3 separate regions of the Homo sapiens genome follow, and all the other regions are linked to region 3. Evidence: promoter capture Hi-C in 16 types of primary human blood cells and fetal thymus (Javierre and others, 2016). All regions are on one chromosome and are shown on one strand. Each heading gives the region's core, a stretch centred on a gene start or on the middle of the fragment in contact. The rest is flanking DNA. Distances are from core to core; before and after follow the strand shown.

Evidence for each region. The method cuts DNA at HindIII sites, captures the fragments that hold promoters and counts their contacts. A CHiCAGO score of 5 or more calls a contact.
Region 1: a fragment that was not itself captured here is called in contact with the fragment with the promoter of CD2BP2 in region 3 in 1 of 17 cell types (neutrophils); the score reaches 5.1 in neutrophils.
Region 2: a contact is called between the fragment with the promoter of KIF22 here and the fragment with the promoter of CD2BP2 in region 3, in 2 of 17 cell types (neutrophils and monocytes). The highest score is 6.9, in neutrophils.

The regions. Positions count from the first base shown.
Region 1 is chr16:29,696,721-29,699,639 of GRCh38, reverse strand. It overlaps QPRT (quinolinate phosphoribosyltransferase), which reads right to left. Exons shown (of 4, transcript NM_014298.6): 3 at 2,513-2,644; 4 at 941-2,441. The coding sequence ends at 2,229. Among named protein-coding and RNA genes, the nearest start is that of QPRT, 19 kb to the right of the region's middle. RefSeq lists a silencer at 13-187. The HindIII fragment of the contact is 2,648 bases long and covers 140-2,787 here.
Region 2 is chr16:29,789,341-29,792,040 of GRCh38, reverse strand. It overlaps KIF22 (kinesin family member 22), which reads right to left and starts at 1,290. Exons shown (of 14, transcript NM_007317.3): 1 at 1,212-1,290. The coding sequence starts at 1,281. RefSeq lists an enhancer at 1,480-1,879. The HindIII fragment of the contact is 11,757 bases long and covers 1-2,700 here.
Region 3 is chr16:30,353,960-30,356,659 of GRCh38, reverse strand. CD2BP2 (CD2 cytoplasmic tail binding protein 2) reads left to right here and starts at 1,352. Exons shown (of 7, transcript NM_006110.3): 1 at 1,352-1,448; 2 at 1,953-2,056; 3 at 2,338-2,476; 4 at 2,602-2,700. The coding sequence starts at 1,979. CD2BP2-DT (CD2BP2 divergent transcript) reads right to left here and starts at 1,226. Exons shown (of 2, transcript NR_184233.1): 1 at 1,040-1,226; 2 at 1-367. RefSeq lists enhancers at 1,181-1,240, 1,321-1,380, 435-1,386, 1,118-1,412, 1,103-2,302 and 1 more. The HindIII fragment of the contact is 7,065 bases long and covers 1-2,700 here.

The DNA of each region.
Region 1 (2,919 bases), core at 214-2,713, 660 kb after region 3:
TATCACTTCTCTCCAAACCCCATGGCCATGACCCACACTCAAGTCCTCTTCCACAGCTCCTCCTGGCCTCCCTGCAGCTGCTCTAGCCCCCTCAAATGCATCCTTCTGCAACGGACTGGATTGAAGCTGCGAATAAGCTTATCTGATTTTCCAGCTTGATTTCCAGCTCACTCATGAGACAGAGTCCAAATCCTCCGATCTACCATTTTGTGGTCTGGACCCAGCCCATCTCCTAGCCACCTCCTGATCACAGCTTCAAATCTTACAGCAAACAATCCAAGCCACCTCTGCCCATGCATCTCCCCTGCCTGGAAATCCATTTCCCTGCAAGGAGGGCGTGTGTTGCCCTAGAGTGCCCAGGATCCATTTCCTGTTCCCCCAGTAATGGAGTGCCCGCCCCAGCTCTCAGAGCTGGAGGATACTGGAGGGCTAACCCATTTCTGGGTTTAGGGGGAGCTTAAGACTCAGGCAGGCAGGTTCCTTTCGCTTTTTTAATGGAACGCTGTGGCTGCAACGAGCATTTTCCAGTTGGCCACAGCGCACCCCCACTTTGTCTTATTCCAGTTCCACCCATTTATTTTATCCGAATAGGTCCTGGAGGCACCGAGTTTGCAGCTCCTGGTACCCTCTCCTCACTTCTGCTCTGTCAGGCCCCAATGCCTGCCCAGATCCCAGATCCCAGTTCCCAGATCACCCCGGGGCTCAACTTTCCTCCCTTGATGCCCAGTGGAACCCCTGGTCCCATGGGGCTTCAGTTTCCCCAGTTCAGGCATAAGAAGCTGGGGTTCATCTGAGCGTGTCCATGTTCCCCCTGGAGGAAGGACGGGAGCAGGCAGGGTGGAGCTGGGATTAGAGGGGACAGGGCAGCTGCAGGTGGCACCTCTGGGCTGTGTCCTCTTGTAGCAGGACGAGCCACAGACAAAACTCCTCAGGCACCGGATTAAAGAAGGAAGAGGTTTATTTGGCCAGGAGCATTGGCAGACTTGCATCTTAATAGCTGAGATCCCTGAAAAAGAAATTCTTGGCCTTTTTAAAGGCTTACAACTCTAAGGGGTCCACGTGAAAGGGTCATGATATCTCAAGCAAGCGGGGAACGTGACTGGGGGCTACACGCATCAGCTAACAGAGCAGAAAGTTTTGCAATGCTTTTTCATACAATGTCTGGAATTTACAGATAACACAAGTAGTTTAGGTCAGGGGTTGATATTATTATTATTGTTACTTTTTTTTAACTACCAGGGCCGGGTGGTGTCGCCAAGGTCTTCTGGCTATTTATCTTACTTCTGTTTTGTTTTGTTTTCTAACTTTTTGCTTTCTCTCTTTCCTCCTGTCTTGTAAACTAGGCAAGGTGGGGGGAGGAGGGCAGCAGGAGTAGTAGTGGTCTCCTTCTTACTGTGGGACTGGCCCCTTTGGTTTAGGGTATCACCAAAGGCAGTGTCTAGGCCAGCCCAGTGTCTCTGCCCAGCAAACCTCCATCTGCTGTGCACTCACAGCCAGGCCATGCTGGTGTTTGGTACAGGTTGGGTGCATGAAGGATGAAGGTTTTGGCCTGTCTGGGGCTTTTGCCTGCCTTTCTTCCTTTCTTTCCATCCTTCCTTTCCCTCCCTCCCTCCCTCCCTCTCTCTTTCTCTCTTTCTTTCCTTTGTTTCTTCTTTGGAGACAGAGTCTCGCTCTATCACCCAGGCTGGAGTGCAGTGGCACCATCAGCTCACTGCAACCTCCACTTCCTGGGTTCAAGCGATTCTCCTGCCTCAGCCTCCTAAGTAGCTGGGATTACAGGCGCGTGCCACCACACCCAGCTAATTCTTCTATTTTTGGTAGAGATGGGGTTTCACCATGTTGGCCAGGCTGGTCTCAAACTCCTGAACTCAAGTGATCTTCCCGCCTCAGCCTCCCAAAGTGCTGGGATTACAGGTGTGAGCCATCGTGCCCGGCTGTCCCAGGTAACTTCTGACATTTGCTGACCCCTCACTATGTGCTCATTATCACCGCAGAACCCCATGTGGTTGATCCTTTATTAGACCCATTTTACAGATTAGGAAACTGAGATGAGCAGAGGTGAAGTCAGCCCTGACAGGTCACAGGAGCAGCAGGTGGCAGAGCCAGAGTTGGGCTCAAGCTAGTGCCAAATGTGCCCCATTGGCCACTGACCCTAAAGATGTGTGACCCAGAGGGTCCTGAGGAGCCACGTTAACCCATGGCCGGTGTCATCCTCTTCCGGTTTAGGACTAGTGGATTTTGGGCACTGGAGCCACCTCTTTGGCAAACAGCTTGAGGGAGAAATCAAGGGCTGGGGCCGCCTGGGTCAGCATCCCCATGGAGATGACGTCTATGTGCGGCCCGCAGAACTGGGGGAGGTTGTCCAGGGTGATGCCCCCACTGGCTTCCACAGCCACACTCGGGAACTGGGCCTTCAGCACGGTGGCCGTGGGGTGCAGCTCCTGCGGGACACAAGCCAAGGGGAGGTAAGAGCCCACCACAGATCCCTCCCCGGAGGCAGAGCCCACCTTACCTCTGGCTTGAAGTTGTCCAGCAGGACAAGGTCGGCACCAGCCTCAGCTGCCTGCACGGCCTCCTGCAGGCTGCTGCATTCCACTTCCACCTTCAGAGTGAAGTCAGCCGCCTGTCTGGCCGCCCGCACCGCCTGCTGGGCAGCCGGGAGGACAAGGGTGAGGACTGGGCCCAGCACCTGGCACTGGGGCGCAGGGAGCCGGGAGGGCGAGGGTGACGATAGGGCCCAGCACTGCAGCTGGGGCGCGGGGAGCCGGGACTGACATTTGAAAAGCTTCGGGTGGACCATGAACTTGGGGTTAATAAGGAAACCAGACTTTGGGGTTGTTTTTGCTTTGTTTTGTTTTTGAGACAGGGTCTCAACCTGTCGCCCAGGCTGGAGTGCAGTGGTGCAATGATAGCTCACTG
Region 2 (2,700 bases), core at 41-2,540, 560 kb after region 3:
AAGGGCTTACTTCAGATTCCACACCCTCAGTTTATACACATCTCTCATTGTGTTTCGTATTACATCTACGTATGTGACACTCTATTGAAACAGACTGTAAATTCCTCGAGGAAGGGACATTATTCATTCAGGCATTTTCATATCTACCATGCACCGGACACAGTGCATCTTCGAAGGGTAAGGGGAGACTGTGCTCAGCCAGCAGGGATAACATGTACTTGGGCATAATGGTTAAGAGCAGAGGTTCTACACTCAGACTCCTTGAGAGCGAATTCAAGCCCCAATATTTACTAGTTGTGTTAACTCTGAACAAACTAACCTCAGTTTCCTGTGTAAAACAAAGACAGTAATAGTAACAACCTGATAGCATTGTGTGGACAATAAATGGTTCACCACCATAAAATGCCTACAACTGTGCCTGGCACATAGCAAGAGCTCTACATGTGTTAGGCATTCTCCTAAATGTCTGTTTCCCCACGAGGCTAACGAGGGCTCCAGTGAATTACTATGGCGCTCACCATCATCACTAACGAGGATTAAGTCTCCGGGTTAGAGAGGCACATGTAAACAAATACTCACATACAAGATTTTGGGTGTCCTAACAGCCTTTCCAACCCTAAAATAGCATTCACTTCCATGCTAGAGTGAAAGGAAATTTTAGTCTTTTATTTCGTTTTCCTGTAATCGCAGAGCATCTTACGCTGCCAACTCAAACCCAGCAGCAGCCGGGTCTGTTCCTCAGCCCGTCCTCTTGCATCTCTCAGGGATGTCTCTGCACCCAAACACCATGTCCCACACAGAACCCTTCCCAATACACGCCTCCGGCTCCCTTCTTCTCGTCCTCGTGGCTAGAGCGTCCGCCACTCTTCTCTTGCTTATTCAGGTGATCTCCAGGGATGAGGCCATGACCCCCGTTTCACAGACGAAGAAACCGAAGCTCACAAAGAAAAAGTGCGCGGGGTTCAAGCCAAGAGCCTGGACCGGAGACCCGAGTCTACTGACCCAAGGGGAGAGCAGGAAACAGGGAGAAGGCAGGAGCCAGGCGGGGCGACCGGCTCGCGACCCCACACTCTCACCGTCCCCCTCTCCCCGCCCCTGCGCCATGGCCGCCTCTCCGCGACAACCCGCAGAGCCTGGACCACACTCCGACACATAACTCCCACTAAACTCCAGACGTCGGTACCCGCCTTGCCCAGGCCGGGCTCAAGTACCTGAGATCGCCGCCGCTGAAGCTGCCGCCATCTCGCGTCGCCTCTGCTGCGTCGAGCCGCCCGCGGCCATTCCACTCCCTCCTTGGGCCCGCCTCTCCCATTCGAATTCCCCGGTGCCCCGCCCCCTCTCCCAGGTTCCACCAATCAAGACTACGCGCCGCCGGAAGCTGCTGCGTGTGGGTCGCCACTATCCCGCCTTCCAGCGCTCGCCTCCGGGTCCCCAAGAAAAGGTTCCCCTGGTCAGGACGCATGCGCGCGCGTGGGCCGCGCAGCCGTTGATGTCTGGAAGCGCGCTGCGATACAAACCCCTACGCAGGGATGTTGGCGACGGTGGCCGCTGGGGGAGCTGCTCAGCGCCGCCCGGCACTGGGCTCCCTTTCCCTTTACTTTCTGCAGTTTCTTGCCTCCGTGGGTGGTTGGCGCGTCTGCGGAGCCAGGGTCGTTGTGTGGATCGTGGGACTGCAGCCCCAGCCAAAGGGCTATCACGTCTGGTCGGTTCTGTAGATCTGGGCCCCAGGGGCTGGACTCTGGGCAGTCACGTTGCAGTCGCTGCCTGCTGGGCCCAAGGCCACTGTAGGTCCCCTCGCGTCCGTGTCAGCCCAGGAGAGCAGCTTGGATGTTCCTGTCTTTATAACTTGGCACTCAGCACGTCGGCGAAGCGTGGAAAACGCTTAGTCTGTGATTCAGTCCCACTCACCCACGGTTCCGGTTCCCAGTCCTTAAGAGTACAGCAGTCCGTTGAGTAGCTCTCTGTCCTTTCTGAAGGGTTGGCTAGGGACGGTCATTCCACTTTTGAGCACCAGGTAGGTAGGGCCCAGGTTTAGACATTATGTTCCACCCTGTTGAACAACAAAACAAAACACGGGCCGGGCGCGGTGGCTCAGTCCTGTAATCCCAGCACTTTGGGAGGCTGAGGCGGGAGGCTCACCTGAGGTGAGGAGCTCGAGACCAGCCTGGCCAACATGGCGAAACCCCGTCTCTACTAAAAACACAAAAATTAGCCGGGGATGGTGGCACGCCTGTAGTCCTAGCTACTCGGGAGGCTGAGGCAGGAGAATCGCTTGAACCCGGGAGGTGTAGGTTGCAATGAGCCGAGATGGTGCCACCGCACTCCAGCCACGGCGCCAGAGTGAGACTCCGTCTCAAAACAAAAAACACAAATCTTAGATCAGTGTTTCTGAAACGTTTTGCCTTGGGATCCCACTACAGTTTTTAAAAATGAGGCCTCCAAAGATGTTTTGTGTATATGAGGGTTTTTGTTTTTTTGTTTTTGAGACGGGGTTTCACTTCCATCTCCCAGGCTAGAGTGCAGTGGCTCAATCTCGGTTCACTCCAACCTCTGCCTCTTGGGTTCAAGTGATTCTCCTGCCTCAGCCTCCCGAGTAGCTGGGATTACAGGTGTGCACCACCACGCTCAGCTAATTTTTGTATTTTTATGGAGACAGGGTTTCACCATGTTGGCCAGGCTGGTCTCAAACTCCTGACCTCA
Region 3 (2,700 bases), core at 103-2,602:
AGTGCCCACAGCCAAGTCTCCAGCTCTTCCTGGGTTTCTGCAGCCAGCTTGTAGGCCCGCCCACCTGTGCCCTCCACCCCAGGGGTCAGGATGGTAAAGGCATAGGGTTCTGCAGCCTTAAGGTGTGGTTCCACCTGGCAGTTCTCTAACAGGATGAGGCTCAGGGGTGCATGGTCGGTCTAGTGTTCTAGGTAGAAGAGGAGGTTTCCTCGGAGGATGAACCATCGGCGCTGGTAGCTGAGGTTTCGGGTCCCCTTCTTTAGCAGAATGCCTTCCTGGTCTGGGGCCTGTGTTCTGTAACCATGGAAGAAACTGAGCACGGACTTTCTGTGCAGTTTTCATCGTGATCCAATATGGGAGGAAACCCCTAGGGAGAGAGAAGTGGCCCATCTAGTTGCCTGGGGGAAGAGTAGGGGAACTCTCATGCTGTCCTCGTCTGGCTTCAGCACGTGCTGCCTGCGCACAGTCTTGGCTTAGGGGGATGCAGGCTCCGAGTGTCAAGAGCTAGGGGTCCCAGCACAGGGGCTGATCCCCGCTACCTCCCCAATTCCCCCTTCTGCTTGGGCCACATTCCGCTACCTGGGCAGGAGTTGCTAGGCCCTGTTTGCTCAGGGGGGCTTCATGCTGCAGAGAGGCACTGTTGCCCTTTTCCAGGCCTACCTGAGAGCAGGGCACAAGGGGCTTCTGGCCTGAGTACTGGCGCCAATGCCACCTCTCCAGTGATGGCTCTCCCACCTCAGAAACCAGGAACTCGCCCAGGGTATGGGCGTGGGACAAATTATTTCCCCTGGGTCCTAAAGGGAGGTGTGTTCAGAAAGTGCCCGGAGAGCCGTCCAGGGGCCCCAGGCTGGCCATCGGGAGAGTCAGGCTTCCCCTCGGAGAGGCAAGGCTGCACCTCTCAGGCTAGGAGGGCTGACCACTGGACCATAGGAATGGGAAGGCAGGATTTCTAACGAGACGGTAGGGGCGCTGAGCCCTTAGCCCTGGGGGAAGGGTGACTTGAACCCAGGACAGGAAAACGGAGCAGCAACCCACTGACCCTGCTCGGACTTTGCCCCTCCATCCTGACCCTGGGCGGCCCTTTAAGCAGATGCGCTCCAGTTTTTCTCCAGAGCCTCTACTGCTTGAATGACGGACTCGAAGCTACTTCCGGCCATTTCTCACGCCCAGTCAGAGTCCAGGAATTCTTAGGTTCCCTCTTCTCACCATTGTCCTCCCACGTGACTGACGTCACTTCTGGCGGGAGAGAGGGTGGAGGCGTCTTCGCTCGCTTATCGCATACTTCCGCCCGCTCTTCCAGTTAGTTCCCTAACCCGAGTGAAGCCACTTCCGGGCTTCCCGGGCGCCTTCCGCAGTCCTCTTCCGGGTGATGGCGGCCGGGTGCCCCGGATGTAGCCCTGGCGCAAGCATCTCTTCTTTTTTCCACCTCGCCTTCCGCGGATTCCCAGGTGAGTGCGCGAGGGTGGGACCGCCCGAATCCCCGTGGCCCTCTAAGTTGTACACAGCCCGGGACAGTTGGGGCTCACCACACGGAATTGGGAGTTCGGAGCAGGGAGGAACGGGGTGGCGAGAGCGCCAGGTCCTGGGTCTGCCGGGGCCCGGCGAGCTCCGAGAGAGCCAGGGTAGAGAGCGGGGGTCAGCCCGTGGAGCCGGTGGCGCGCAGACTGCGGGGGCTGGAGTTGGGGGCGGTCACGTGGTGAAGCCTGTCTCCTTTCAGCCAGGGTCGGGGGATCCAGAGGGTCCGCTCCTCCGTCCCCGCCCCGTTTAACTCGCGGATGCTAGACCCAAGTCCTGGAGGCCTCCTGGCTGCCAGCTTCCTTTCGGCCCCTGCTTTTGTGCTCCCTCCGCTCCCAAACTGTACCTGTCACAGACCAGGAAAAATGTTTGCTGTGCTGCGTCTGTTGGCGAGTCCCCTCCTCACCCGGTTCCCTTCCTCTGCATCCTTTCCTCAGCTTGAGAAACACCTCTTTGCCCCGTCATGCCAAAGAGGAAAGTGACCTTCCAAGGCGTGGGAGATGAGGAGGATGAGGATGAAATCATTGTCCCCAAGAAGAAGGTGAGGGGGCCAGACTGCTTTGTGTGGGGGAAAGAGGAGCTAGAAGCCTGAAGAGGAAGAAAGCTGGCGGGAGAGGGGCGGGGCGGGCAGGCAGAGAAAAGCCTAGTTTTTTCAGGTTCTCTGAGGAATGGGTTGGGAGCGTCTTTAGTGTGGCTCCTGAAATATTTGGGGAAGTAGTCGAGATCCTGAAATATTTGGGGAATATTTGGGTCCAGATCCGGAAGTATTTGGGGAGGTAGCCAGTAACCTGCATTTCTCAACTTTCTGGCTCCTGCTCACAGCTGGTGGACCCTGTGGCTGGGTCAGGGGGTCCTGGGAGCCGCTTTAAAGGCAAACACTCTTTGGATAGCGATGAGGAGGAGGATGATGATGATGGGGGGTCCAGCAAATATGACATCTTGGCCTCAGAGGATGTAGAAGGTAAGCTGTACCCAAGAATACACTCTGCTGGAAAAACAAGTAGGGGCCTCTGGTGGTGTGGAGCGAGGGAGGCTCCGGTCTCTTTTTTCCATGCCTGGAAAAGGGCACCTGTGTCTTTGGTGCAGGTCAGGAGGCAGCCACACTCCCCAGCGAGGGGGGTGTTCGGATCACACCCTTTAACCTGCAGGAGGAGATGGAGGAAGGCCACTTTGATGCCGATGGCA